Linked DNA regions of Homo sapiens: region 2 is linked to region 1. The links are contacts of gene promoters, found by promoter capture Hi-C in human tissues and cell types (Jung and others, 2019). All regions are on one chromosome and are shown on one strand. Each heading gives the region's core, a stretch centred on a gene start or on the middle of the fragment in contact. The rest is flanking DNA. Distances are from core to core; before and after follow the strand shown. Region 1 holds the start of FMO4 (flavin containing dimethylaniline monoxygenase 4). Region 2 overlaps FMO1-AS1 (FMO1 antisense RNA 1).

Region 1 (6,373 bases), core at 2,420-4,919:
ATTTAGAGTCCTAAAGAATAGCTGGTCACGGTCATGCCTTGCCATAAAACAAGGATATTACATGGGTTGAGGGGAGGTTCTTAGCTTGCAGAGGCAAGACTGACCATAATAGAAAATAAAGTCCCCAAGGAACGTCATAAGGGATATTCTAGAGCCCACGATGATGTCAGCTAGAAATGGGGATGCTCATGCTTGTCAGCGGGAACTGGAGGAAGTATACACATACACACACATGGAGATATAGGACCAGTTTTTACCAGTTTTTCTGGATTTTATCATTTCTGCACATATCACATTGCTTTTGCCTCAATCAAATGGGCTGAGTTAATTCTAGTAAATCAAGTTTATGTCACACTGAGGCCCTTAATATGTCATGTAGACTTAGTTGCAAGTGCTGCTTTTCCCTGCATTTCCCTGCAACCCACTTGGCCAATTCAGAAGACACACAAATGATAGTTGAGACCTCAAAGTATTCCATTGTTTTATGAAATATATATAACTCATTTCACTTTGCCTTTGAAGATACAGCATTTTTTGAGGAAAGATCAAGCTGTATAACCCCTGTGTGATTTTTGTAGTCTCATGTCACTTATCACAGTGGTATTTGCCTTGGGGAAACAAGAGAGCATATATTTTTTGAGCTATTAGGACCAGTAAATGGGAAATCAGCATAATCATTTGAAACAACTTAAGACTACACTGCTATTAAGAGGCAGAGTTTGCACTGAGTATGGATTTCAGGATCTGAAACCAAGATGTGAACATGCTGTTGGTCTGAGAGCCTGAGGTATCCTGTGGTTCCCGTCACTAAGCCTCTTCCTTCATCTTTGCTCAGGTTTGCTGCTGCACCTTTGGGATGGGCTTGGAGTTTTTCTCTATGGCTCTGTAGCTTGTCTCTTAATCAGATCAGAAGCCCCAGGCACAAAATCTAAGAGAATTTACTGACTGGAGGGAGTAAAGAAAGACTCCTGAGTCCTCCAGGAACCCTTAGACTTACCTGACCCTAAGGCAGATTCATGAACTTGCAATGAGGATCAGAAGGATTTCCTAGGGCTGCCAATTTCTGAATGTATTTGCTGCCTTGCCTTTGTAAGGCTGAGATTGCCATACCTGGCTTCATTATGTATTAAAAAATGCATCATTTTTCCTCTTAGACTTTTTATTTGGGAGTCCCTATTTAGTTGAGAGAGCTATATGGAATGCAATGAAAATGGATTTTGGAGGCAGCAGAGTTGGGTTTGAACTTTCTCTGCTACCAACTAGCCATATGACCCTGAGCAACCGACTGAAGCAACCTTAGATATATTATTTGTAAAATAATAAAAATATCTATGTTGAAGGATTGTTTGCATTTTAAAAAACTTGATATTACTTACACAAAAAAGTGCCTTGCACAAAATATTTACTCAGTGTTCATTCTCTACCTCCCTACTTGTCTCCTGTCTTCCTTCTCTTCTCCTTGGAAAAGACAGTTCATACAGATAAAATGTATCAACAAGTTTGGAAAGGAGTAGGCAGACATACCTGTGTTTTCCTTTGAGTTGAGGAGTAGGAGGTTTAGACAGCTTCTAATCAGAAACAAATGGCCTCCACCAATAAGAATACTTGAATTTCCAGGCCACTAGGTAGAGGCCTGGGGCTGGCAGATCTTTGCTGTGCTCTATCTCTGCAATCATAAGGTAAAAAGAAATGACTGCTAACTGAATTGCCAAAGTGAAAAATATACTGACGTGAATAGACTGGAAGCAAATTAATTCATTCAACAAATATGCCCTGGGTACCTCTAAGTGCAGGTCCTAAGCTAAGTATGGGGCCCTGAAGATAATGAAGACCCTGCAACTAAGAAATAGTAGTAAAGTCTTAGAATTTAAAAAAGACCGTGACTGCTCTTAAGATGTTGTATATGGAGAGGCTGATACTACCTTGTGCTAAGTCCTATGGTAGCAGCATGCTCTAGGCATGAATGCTTGCACTCTCCTGGCCTGTTTATTATCCCTGTCTAGAGACCTAGTTAGTGACACAGAGTGGCCTGTGGGGTTAAAAACGTGCTGGGCAAAAGCACTTTAAGGACTGACTTAGAGACTCTACAGGCAGTAGAAACAAATTGGGAATTAGCACCTTTTAAAATTAATCCGTATTTACAGACTATAAATTTCTGAATGGGAGCAACCTTTTTAAATTTTGCCTTGAGTCAGTAGAGGAAGGTAGTGAGTGAACTGGAAATTGAGAGATCTGAGTTCTAGTTCTGCTTCTGCCTCTAAGCAGCTTGTAACCCTGGACACAATTCTCAATTTCTCTGAGCCAGTGCTTCCACATTTGTAAAACAGAGGGTTCAAGTGGCTTTCTCTTTGTTTCCTTCAAGCTTGAAAGGACTGTTCTTATGTCTGAAAACCAAGTAATTGGTGCACAAAAAAAAAAAGATATGAATTCAAAGGTAGGCGAGAATACTGCAGGCTTGAAGGATTGGGAGAACGTGTGTGCAAACTCTGCAAACTATAAAGTGGACTTCATAAGGTACTTGGTTGCTCAAAGGTGCTTATATTTATTTATTTATTTATTTGAGTTGGAGTCTCACTCTGTCTTCCAGGCTGGAATGCAGTGGCACAATTTCGGCTCACTGCAACCTCCACCTCCTGGGTTCAAGTGATTCTCCTGCCTCAGCCTCCTGAGTAGCTGAGACTACAGGCAGGCGGCACCACGCCTGGATAATTTTTGTATTTTTAGTAGAGACGGGGTTTCACCATGTTGGTCAGGCTGGTCTCAAACTCCTGATCTCAAGTGGTCTGCCCTCCTCGGCTTTCCAAAGTGCTGGGATTACAGGCGTGAGCCACCGTGCCAGCCATAGGTTGCTTATATTTAGTCCCTTGGCAGAAAGGAGACCTGACCTATTGAACTAGACCTTTGTACAACGGGAAAACCCCACCCTATACCTGACTGACCAGCAAATGTAGGAATCCTTTATGAGACATGGAGAGACTTGGGTGATTTGCAAATCATGTAATCAATTATGATTTCTTTGAATTTGAAATTTGATCATTTTATGTTTCTTATCATCATCCTACCATGCTCTTGCTTTGTTACAGTATTTTTTTCCCACGCCATCTATGGGGTATTTGTTTCCCAATGGCTGGCATTTCCATCTCATTCATAAGATGAAATCAGAGGTCACTGGAGTCACTGAAAGTCTCATGATTCTGTTTATCTCACTGACACTTTCCTTTTGGATGGTTCTGTCCACAACATAACTTTGTTTCCTTACAACTTCCCTTTGCTTCCTGACTCTCTCCTTAATTCTCTTGCTTTAGCCCTAGTCAAGAGACCCCAAAAGAAGATAATCACATTCATTCTTAAGGAACACACTCCAAGAAAAACATTCATCTTTTGTGAAAGCAGTTTCTGGATCATTTCCCCATTAAAAAAAAAATCCAGGACACTTACCTTGGTTAGCATAGAGCAGATTCTTTGACTTAAATTATTTCTCAAAGTCAAGGAAAGTGTTTGTCTTTTTTTTTTAAAAAAGCTCAAAACCCAAATTCTTTTTTCTGAAAGAAAAATAAATGGAAAGATGACTTTTGTAAAAGTGCCCTCAGTTTAAAACAAAAGCCATTCGTCTTTTCTGTTATGCTAGTGACAGCAGAAAGTATACAGACTAAGGAAAAAAAGTTGTGTAAGAGGCAAGCGTGATACTTCCGTGATCTTAAGGGAGGGCGGAATGGTGAGTTAGAATACAGCTGTTGGATTGGCAGAACATAAACGCTTCCTGCCCCTTTACCCCACCCTCCTCAACGTCATAGTTCTGGCAAAGCCCTAAAGCTATGGGAAGCACATGATAGCGTCGCTTTTGCCATTATAGTCTGTAGAGGGCGCCAAATCACCCCAAATTACAGCTTTCTCAGCGAAACAGGAGTTCTACTTTTGGAAACAAACTTCTACACCCTGACTCTTGCTTGGATTACCATAGGAGCTGTCCAAAGGAGAAAGTTATTTAGATGACCATTACCTCATCAAGTTCTTTCATGCTTGGAGTTCTCCAACCCCAGAAATGTGATTTTAAAGTTCAGGACTTACAAGGAATTTAAGCTGTTTTGTCCTTCAGATTGGATCAGCAGAGGGAGCTGGTGAAATGTGTTTGAGAAAGCATAAAGCTATTTTTAGATATTAACCTAGGGCACAAGAAAGGTAATAATTATAGAAGCTGTGGCAGAAATAGAAAACTTAACTGTTTTTCCTTCCACTGTGTGCTTGTAAGATAATATAACAGACCATCTTTAGGACTTGTGTTTAGGGACATTTTCCAACATGGTTCACTGAACAATTTCTAAACCACATTTGCTTGTGACTACACATGCAAATGCCTACAGGAGTGAGGAGGGTAACATACACGAGGAAAGTGGGCCAGATATGATCTGACTGGAAAGTACTTTCTCTGTCTATTCAGTTCAGCTAAATGTTGCTATTTGAGAAAATGAGCCCAATATGGCAAGGCCTTAGGTTCTTTTCAGTAAAAGCTGCAAATACAGATTTTAATATAAAATCTTCTGTTGGCAGCAAATATTTTCTTTTGAAAAATATCATGGAATATTATGCAGCCATAAAAAGAAATAAGATCATGTCCTTTGCAGGGACATGGATGAAGCTGGAAGCCATCATCCTCAGCAAACTAACACAGGAACAGAAAACCAAACACTGCATGTTCTCACTCATAAGTGGGAGTTGAACAATGAGAACACATGGACACAGAGAGGGGAATGTTGTAGGGCCTGTTGTAGGGTAGGGGGTGAGGAGAGGGAACTTAGAGGAGAACAGGTCAATAGGTGCAGCAAATCACCATGGCACACGTGTACCTATGCAACAAACCTGCACGTTCTGCACATGCATCCCACTTTTTTTTAGAAGAAATAAAGAAAAAAATTTAAAAAAAGAAAAAAAAATATTGTGTCCAGAGTTAGTTCCTTCCGGTGGGTTCCTGGTCTCCCTGACTTCAAGAATGGAGCTGCGGACCTTTGTGGTGAGTGTTACAGTTCTTAAAAGATGGCACAGACCCAAAGAGTGAGCAGCAGCAAGATTTATTGTGAAGAGCGAAAGAACAAAGCTTCCACAGAGTGGAAGGGGACCCGAGCCAGTTGCTGCCGCTGGCTGGGGTGGCCAGCTTTCTCTTATTTGTCCCCTCCCATGTCCTGTTTCTGTCTTATCAGAATGCCCTTTTCTCAATTCTCCCCACGATTGGTTACTTTTAGAATCCTGCTGATTGATCCATTTTACAGAGCGCTGATTGGTCCATTTTACAGAGCACTGATTGGTCCATTTTACAGAGAACTGATTGGTGCATTTTACAAACTTCTTGCTAGCTACAGAGCACTGATTGGTGCATTTTACAATCCTCTTGTAAGACAGAAAAGTTCTCCAAGTCTCTACTCGACCCAGGAAGTCCAGCTGGCTTCACCTCTCAATACCCCCTTTAAACAGGACACCCCAACTGCTTTTGAGAATTGCGCAATGACTGCTCTAGCTACTTCCTGCTGGATAGGGGTGAAGAAGAGACCCTGAATTGTAGTATCCTCCAGAGGGAAACTCTCTAGGTATCAAAGGGCCAGTGGGTCGATCCAGGGGGTCCTTGGTAGAAGTTGTTAGTTGAGCTCATTTGGGGTTTAATTTGCAAAACCATCTGTAGCTTGATGGCCTCGATCCTGGAGGAAACAAATTGACAAAGAGCTTAAAAATACAGGGCCCGAAGGCAAGTAATAGCAAGATGGTTGTCATGAGACCTAGAAAGGGGAGAAGCCATGTTGCCCAACTCCAGAGAATGGTATAAGAATTTGAAAGGCATTGTCTGATTTCAGAAGACTTTTCCTGTAAATGCCGGGTGGCGTCTCATATTAACCCTGACTGGTTAGTGTAAAAGCAACACTCGTCCCCTAAGAAGGTGCAAAGTCCTCCTTTCTCAGCAGTGAGGAGGTTAGGCCTCAGTGGTTTTAGAGAGTCACTGCTGCCAAAGAGTCTATTTGGGATTGTAGAGTAAGGATAGATTTTGTTCTTTCTTGCAAACTGCCTGAGAAATGCTTTGAGAGTGTGTGGTAGTAGGATAATGAAGTGGATAAATCTGCTATTCCGGTTCCTGTAGCAGTGGCCATTCCTAACCCTATAAGTAGGGGTATTAGTTGTATGGCCCTGTGCTGATGGACTTGTGCTTTGAGGAGCACTGATAGGGTCTGGGCAATGTTTATATTGGGACTTAGGAAGACTAAGGTGCAGGTGCCTGTCCAGTTGGTGGGGAGGCAGATATAGGTTGACATTCCATGTAAGAAGAATACGTCTTGGCTGGGTAGACAGAACTGGTTGTGTACGTTAAAAAGGTGTGTGAGTTTGTTGTTTT
Region 2 (6,986 bases), core at 1,651-4,150, 150 kb after region 1:
GAGGATTTTTTATTAATGTTTTTGTTGTCAGGTGTATTCTTTTGTCTTCCTATAGAAAAATTGGAATGATTTGCTAAAATTTCATAGAATTGGATGTACTTTTAGGGAATAGCCGAGTCTTACTTTAAAGTGGGAACAAGAACAGGTTGTCAACAGGAGTAACTTATTTACTTTAAGCCCAATGTATTTCATGTTCAAATCTGAGTGTGTGTGTACGTTCATGTGCATGTCCACGAGTGCGTGTGCGTACATGCTCACATAGGGATGAATTCAGGAAGACTATAGATATCTTGTGGTTTGACCTTGCCTCTTCTATTCCCATAGATGTGTCTATTTTCAGATCTTGGTGACCTAATAACTACAAATAGCTAAGGAGACAGAGACAATAAAGGTTATTTGTAAGATTTTAAGCTTGGTGGATCATGATATACTAGTGTCAGTTGAAGAATGACAAGGTTCATAAATTTGTGAAGGAGAGCTTTATTTCTCATAAATGATTATAGCCTGAAGGGTGGCCCTTCTGATGAGCTGGGAAGCATGGCCTCTGGCCAGAAGCTGGAAGCAGGCACTTTTGGGGGGGAGGGGTGTGGAGGTGGGGCAAAGGGAACATGAATTTATGTTGAGCAGGGTGGCTAAATATGCAAATTCAATATGCTATAGGAGGAATCATGAGTATTTATGAAATGAGAAACATTTATGTGCACATCTGAGCTTCATCTTCCTTCACGGGACCCATGTTCAAAAAATGGCAGGATTAGCATGACCCAAGGGTGGTGTTTTTGGCCCTCTGATGTCAAAAGGTGAAGCAGAGGACACAAAATCCTCACTGTGCATTCTCTGCAGACTGGCCAGAACCACTCCGTGGTCATCAGTGATCTCTTATCAGTCAGGCAGTTGGTTGAAATCAGGCATGGAATCTTTTGAAAGGGCTGGTTTCTACACACACACACACACACACACACACACACACACACACACACACACACACGAATATTATTCAGCCTTAGAAAGGAAGGAGATCCTGCCATTTGCAACATGATGATCCTAGAGGACATTACGCTAAGTGAAATAAGCCACAGGAAAAAAAAAGTATTCCACATCTTTCTTATATGCAGCATCTTAAAAATGCTGAATACACATAAACAGAGTAGAAAGGTGGTTACCAGAGGTAGGGGGAGATCAGGAGATGTAGATAAAAAGAAACAAAGTTGCAGTTTTGTCAGATGAATAAATCTAGAGGTCTGATATGCAGCATGTGGACTATAGTTAATAGTGTTGCTGATACAGGATTATTCTGTCACTTTTGCCAGCTGGAAGTGTCTGGCTGGCGATGCCCCAAACTGGGCCTTGCTCAGCCCCAGGCCTGCTGCAGGAGGTACTCTGCCCATTTGCACACTAGCTCACCCCATGACTGGCCCAGGAGTGCCCCAGCCCACCTGTGTTACAGCTCATACCTATGTTCAGCAATTCTTGTGTTCTTGTCCTGAATCCAAGAGAAGTGAGGTTACACTGACAATTGAAGGGTGAGAAGGGCAGAGAAGAGCTTTATTAAGTGACAGAACAGCTCTCAGCAAAGAGGGGCCATGAGGGTGATCCACCACATGAAGTTGGGTGGTCTCCCCTTCAGTGTGGCTGGGTCCGGGGCTTTTATGGGCTCAGAATGGGGGAGTGGTGATTGGTTTGTGAGTACGCAGAAAAGGTTAAAACAAAGGCACAACTCAGTGGGCATGGCAGTGTAAAAAACCAATTAGGGAAGGGTAGGTATATATAAAATAGGTGAAGGGTAGGGATCATTCAGAGGAAAGTGCACCAAATGGGAAGAGAGGTTCTCAATCCAGTCTGTGGATTTGACTTGTAGCTTGGCTTTCAGGCTTTAAACTGTCTTTGGCTTGAAGGTGGGGTTTCACCAGGGACCTGCCCCTGTCTGCCTAGGCATTTGCCTGCCTCTTGCGGATATCATTGTATTGTATACTAGAAATTTGCTAAGAGAGTAGATTTTTGGTGCTCTTACCATACACACACACACCAATTAGGGAAGGGTGAGATGATGGATATATTAATTGCCTTGACTGTAGTAATCATTTCAACATGTATATGTAAGGATAGGTATGGGCAAAGAGGAATGAAGACAATGGTCCCCAGGAAAAGCCACTGTGCAGAAAGAATAAAGATAAATAACAAAGAGCAGGAGTTGCCCAAGGCTATGGTGGTAGAGATGTGTGTGGGGTGATGGAAGGTATCTGTGACCAGGGGAACAGCAGGAATTGGAGCAAAGAGGTGAGGATCATTATGGTATGAGTTTAGGAAATATCACCAGTCCAATACTACCAGAGTATTAAGAGGGAGCAAGGAAGAGGTAAAAATGAGAAAGAGTAGAGCCAGATGGTAGAGGGCCTCATTTGCTCTTGAGCTTGGGCATTATCCAAAAGGTGATGAGAAGCCTTTGAAGGATTTTGAGCAGGGCGTGCTATGGCCAGACTTGCAGCAGAGTTGAGGATAGATGGGGAAGTGGCAGGACATTATCACAACCTATGGTCCTCTCTTTCCAGATCTCAGCATTGATCTGGGTGATGCATTATGAAAAAATTACATGCATTACCTGGGGACTTTTGCGATTCCATTATTCTTCCCTTTCTCATGTACAGGGCAAAGCGGCTGAGATCTTTGAACTCCCTTTGAACTTTGAGAATGGTGACTGGAAGATGACAATTCATGTTGTTTTCAGGAAAGGTAAGGAGAAGTTCACAACCTGCGCTCAACCTTTTGTTGGCTTATCCACAACTGTGTATTCTGGTAAAGTGCATTCTAATTAGTATATACCTCATTAGTCACAGCCCTCTCTGGCAATAGCACAATTAATATTGTTATATAATGCACAAACACAGTCATCTGAACACAGGGAGTGGTAACATGACACACAGGACCAAGTAGTGTCATTGAGAAAGCAGAAAAATATTTTGCAGTTGAGACTAAAATTCATACACAAAATCTTTCATTTTTCTCTTGTCTTCACAAGGTTCACCAATCAGGCATCTTGTAGGTGCTTTCTAGACTAAATGGTACCTATTTAAAAAATTATTTTCTTACATATAAAACTAGTCATGTATGAAAATGTCTTCAATGAAAAAACTCAAACAATGCGAAAGTATGTAGAAACAAAAGTGCGGTTCCTACTCCTTCCTCCCATTTCCAGCCCCAGTCTAATCTTCAGAGAAAACTACTGATGACAATTGGCTTTCAGACATTTCCTTCTGTGTAAAAATAACATTTATATACACAGATACTAGACTTTACATAAATGAAGAAATATTGTTTACTTTGTTACTTGCTTTTTTCATTAAACAATATATTTTGAAAAGAGTTCCATGTCAGTATATATACGTTGATCTCCTATATTTTACTGTATGTTATTTTATACTATTATAGATATTTGAATTGTTTCCAGGTTTTCATGATTATAAACGAGACTGCAATGATTTTCCTTGTTCATCCATCTTTGTGCTTTAATGCAAAAATATCCATATAACAGATTCCTACAAATAATTATTCCTTTTTAAATATTCTAATAAGTTATGAAGACTCCTGTTTGGAATCAGTTCAGTGTTTTGCTTTGAGTTTTTGAGCAGGTAGCTGTGACTCCCCCATTTGAACCTCTTTCTATCTCACAGGGCTGGTGTTCGCCACTGTGAATGAATGGTGGCTGTACTGGGTAAATGCCAGAGGCAGTCAGTTATCTGAAGGCTGCTCCAGAGGGTAATGAATGAATTTTGTGTCCAAAGAGGTGTTAAAGAGGAGGCTGGATATTGTAGAAAGAACACAAGTATCAACCAAGGGTTAAATTAGGAGATCTTTAAACTCCCTCTGAACCCTGAGAATGGTGGCTGGAAGATGGCAATACATATTGTTTCCAGAGAAGGTAAGGAGAAGTGGAGGTTCTTCGGCTGAAATCTGCCCTTACTGAGTTTTCTCCAGCCCATCTAAGACCTACAAATCTTTTTTTAAAAGTTGTTGCTAAACATTAAAAATCCAGAAAATAACAGATGGAAATATCAATACAAGGCTTCTCTAAAAAGTTTAGAAAATCTGGTTGTCCTGGGCCTGCAAATATTTTTGCGGAAGTAAAGGATGATTTCTCTTTGTTTAATGTGCCAACAGAATGATTAATATGCAATCTATCTGCTTTACTCACTTATTTTTTCAGTCTAGTCTCAAAAGTATCTGGATTTGGATGTCTCATATTGGCCAAAGCCTAATGGAGCTTAAGGATTTTCTTAATACATTAAGAAGGCAGGTATAGAATATGAGTCAGTTCTTAGCTGCGAAACTCATTTGATGATTAGTTGGGTGGGGTGGTGATGAATCTGTGATATATTAGTAAACCAAATACCTGAAGATTACATTGTCTTATTTCAGAGAGGAGAAATTAACAAATGTAGTCATAAAGGCTCTGGTTATACTTCTTTTATTATAAGAAAAGGTAATCTGTGAAGCTATCTACACCTTATTAAATCTAAGGACAGGGCAGTTGAAGGCACCTAGATCACTGCAGTTCAATGTAAGATGTAAATTTTAAAGATATGCATAGAAATTTCAGCTATCATTTCCTTGTGGCTTAAATTTCAGCTATCATTTCCTTGTGGCTTCATTTTTTAATCTAATTATTCATTTTACCTTCAAGTACTTTTTACTAAAAAGCCATATTATGACACTGCATCCAGATATACAGTTGTTAATTATCAATGTATTATAATCATCAACATAATGTATAAACCAGATTGTGGTTTATATCCTTAAAGAGACTGGTATATACAGAGCAAGGTGCCATGTCTAAGGGCCTGCCTTTTGATCTGTGTAGCTGCCCTTTTCCTCTCCTGCATTCCAAACCCCTGTCTCTTAAAAAAAAAACCCTGTGTTCCTCCCACAAATTGAAGAGTGGAAATTTTGGGAAAGAATTCTGCCCACTCTTTTCCTTGCTAACACAGATGATAAAACTCACTCTTTCTCTGTCACATCTCGCTCTTGTTATGTTGGCATCTTTCTAAAAGTGGCAAGCAGCAGGACCCTTTTGCCAGTTACACATTTTGTGTTGCTATAAAGAAATACCTGAGACTGGGTAATTTATAAAGAAAAGAGGTTTATTTTGGTTCATCATTCTGCAGACAGTACAAGAAGCATGGTGCCGACATCTGCTTCTGGTGAGGCCTCAAGATGCTTGCAATCATGGCAGAAGGTGAAGGGGGAGCAGGCATGTCACATGGTGTGAAAGGGAGCACGAGAATTGAAGCAAGAGAGAGGAGAGGAGGTGCCAGTCTCTTTTAAACAACTATAATAGCTCTCGTGAACTAATAGAGTGAGAACTCACTCATTACCCTGGGGAGGGCACCAAGCCATTTATGAGAGAATCACTTCCCACAAGGCCCCACTTCCAACACTGGGGATCACATTTCAACATGAGATTTGGAGGGGACACACATCTGAGTCATAGCACCTGGCTAATTTTTTAATTTTAATTTTTTTGTAGGACAAGGTTTTGCTATGTTGCTTAGGCTGGTCTCAAACTCCTGTGCTTAAGCAATCTTTGTGCCTGGGCCTCCTAAAATGCTGGGATTCCAGGCATAAACTACTACTCTTAACCCTTTTTTAAAAATATGCTAATTTATGCTAGGATTTTAGAGGCAAAGTAAAACATTAAAAATATGGTTTCTTCTGTGTCTGATGATGCAAAACATAGTAGTTTCTTAACTGTGAGATTTGCTATTAATCTGACTGAAAAGCTGATTGTCTTTGGGAATCAACTGGTAAAAGGGTTTTATTTAGTTAGTTTATTAATGAATTTGTCTGGTATAGTCCTTACACTAGATTCAATTACAGATTGTATATACACACAAACATAGATTTCACAGATGAGCAGGCTACCCAATCAGTAGAATGAGGTGCATGAGTTAGCTTTGAGTTAGCATGCTCCCTCGCCTTTTGTCACTCCTTAACGGCTCTTTGTTCTCACTTTATTTTGCATGGTTGGTAAAGATGATGGGAAGGACCACACTTATGTCTACTTACTACACAGGACCAAATACACAGAGGTTATAAGCAACATTCCATCAAGTTTAATTTAGTGCAAATTAATATTATCCATATGATTGAATAAAATATCAAGAAGTCTGAATTACAAAAAAGTTTCTAGTTGGCTCAAATAAACTAAGTCTGAAGGGCTCAGCAGTCCATTTAGCCAACTTTCACTACAGTCTTTGTTGAGGAGAACATCCCTCTAGTACTAGGTCTGAGGAGGGAATGAGATTCTCACACCCTGAAACATGTTCCAGAAAAGAGACCCCCACTCAAAATATTATTTTTCTTGTTCTTCCCAAGTGTCTCTCTCCAAGATTCCAGATTAGTCTTCATTGGTAGTCCCCAGATTGAACAGAGGACTCAGAAATATGTGCATAGGATATTTGGAAAATCAGCTTATAATTCTTACAGACTCTTTCTGTTACACAATCTAGCATCATACTAAACACAACACAACACTAGCATGTGTGTACACATACACATGTACACAAGAATACTTTGGAGACACATCTGGTTTGAACCAATTTTGATTACTAGGATAAATTATACATATTCTAAAAACAAATTGAGATAGTTTGGTATACATTTTTCTTTTCAAGTCTGAACTTTTTCTACTATGACTTATCCATCTCTCCAATTAGACAAATTGAGTTAGAATATTCATCCTGCTTTTATTAGATACAAATAATGTGGATGTCATAAGTATCAATGTACTTACTGTATTCTTTCCTAAAGGAATATTAGAACTGTTCTTTTTTTTTATTATACTTTAAGTTTTAGGGTACATGTGCACATTGTGCAGGTTAGTTACATATGTATACATGTGTCATGCTGGTGCGCTGCACCCACTAACTCGTCATTTAGCATTAGGTATATCTCCCAATGCTATCCCTCCCCCCTCCCCCTACCCCACAACA

What was found. The method cuts DNA at HindIII sites, captures the fragments that hold promoters and counts their contacts. A contact is called where the count stands out against the background at its distance.
Region 2: a contact is called between a fragment that was not itself captured here and the fragment with the promoter of FMO4 in region 1, in 1 of the 25 tissues and cell types used here (H1 embryonic stem cells).

What each region holds. Positions count from the first base shown.
Region 1 is chr1:171,311,479-171,317,851 of GRCh38, reverse strand. It overlaps FMO4 (flavin containing dimethylaniline monoxygenase 4), which reads right to left and starts at 3,669. Exons shown (of 10, transcript NM_002022.3): 1 at 3,439-3,669; 2 at 1,525-1,666. The HindIII fragment of the contact is 8,197 bases long and covers 1-6,044 here.
Region 2 is chr1:171,163,848-171,170,833 of GRCh38, reverse strand. It overlaps FMO1-AS1 (FMO1 antisense RNA 1), which reads left to right. Exons shown (of 5, transcript XR_922278.4): 3 at 2,646-2,730. Among named protein-coding and RNA genes, the nearest start is that of FMO2, 18 kb to the left of the region's middle. The HindIII fragment of the contact is 5,651 bases long and covers 75-5,725 here.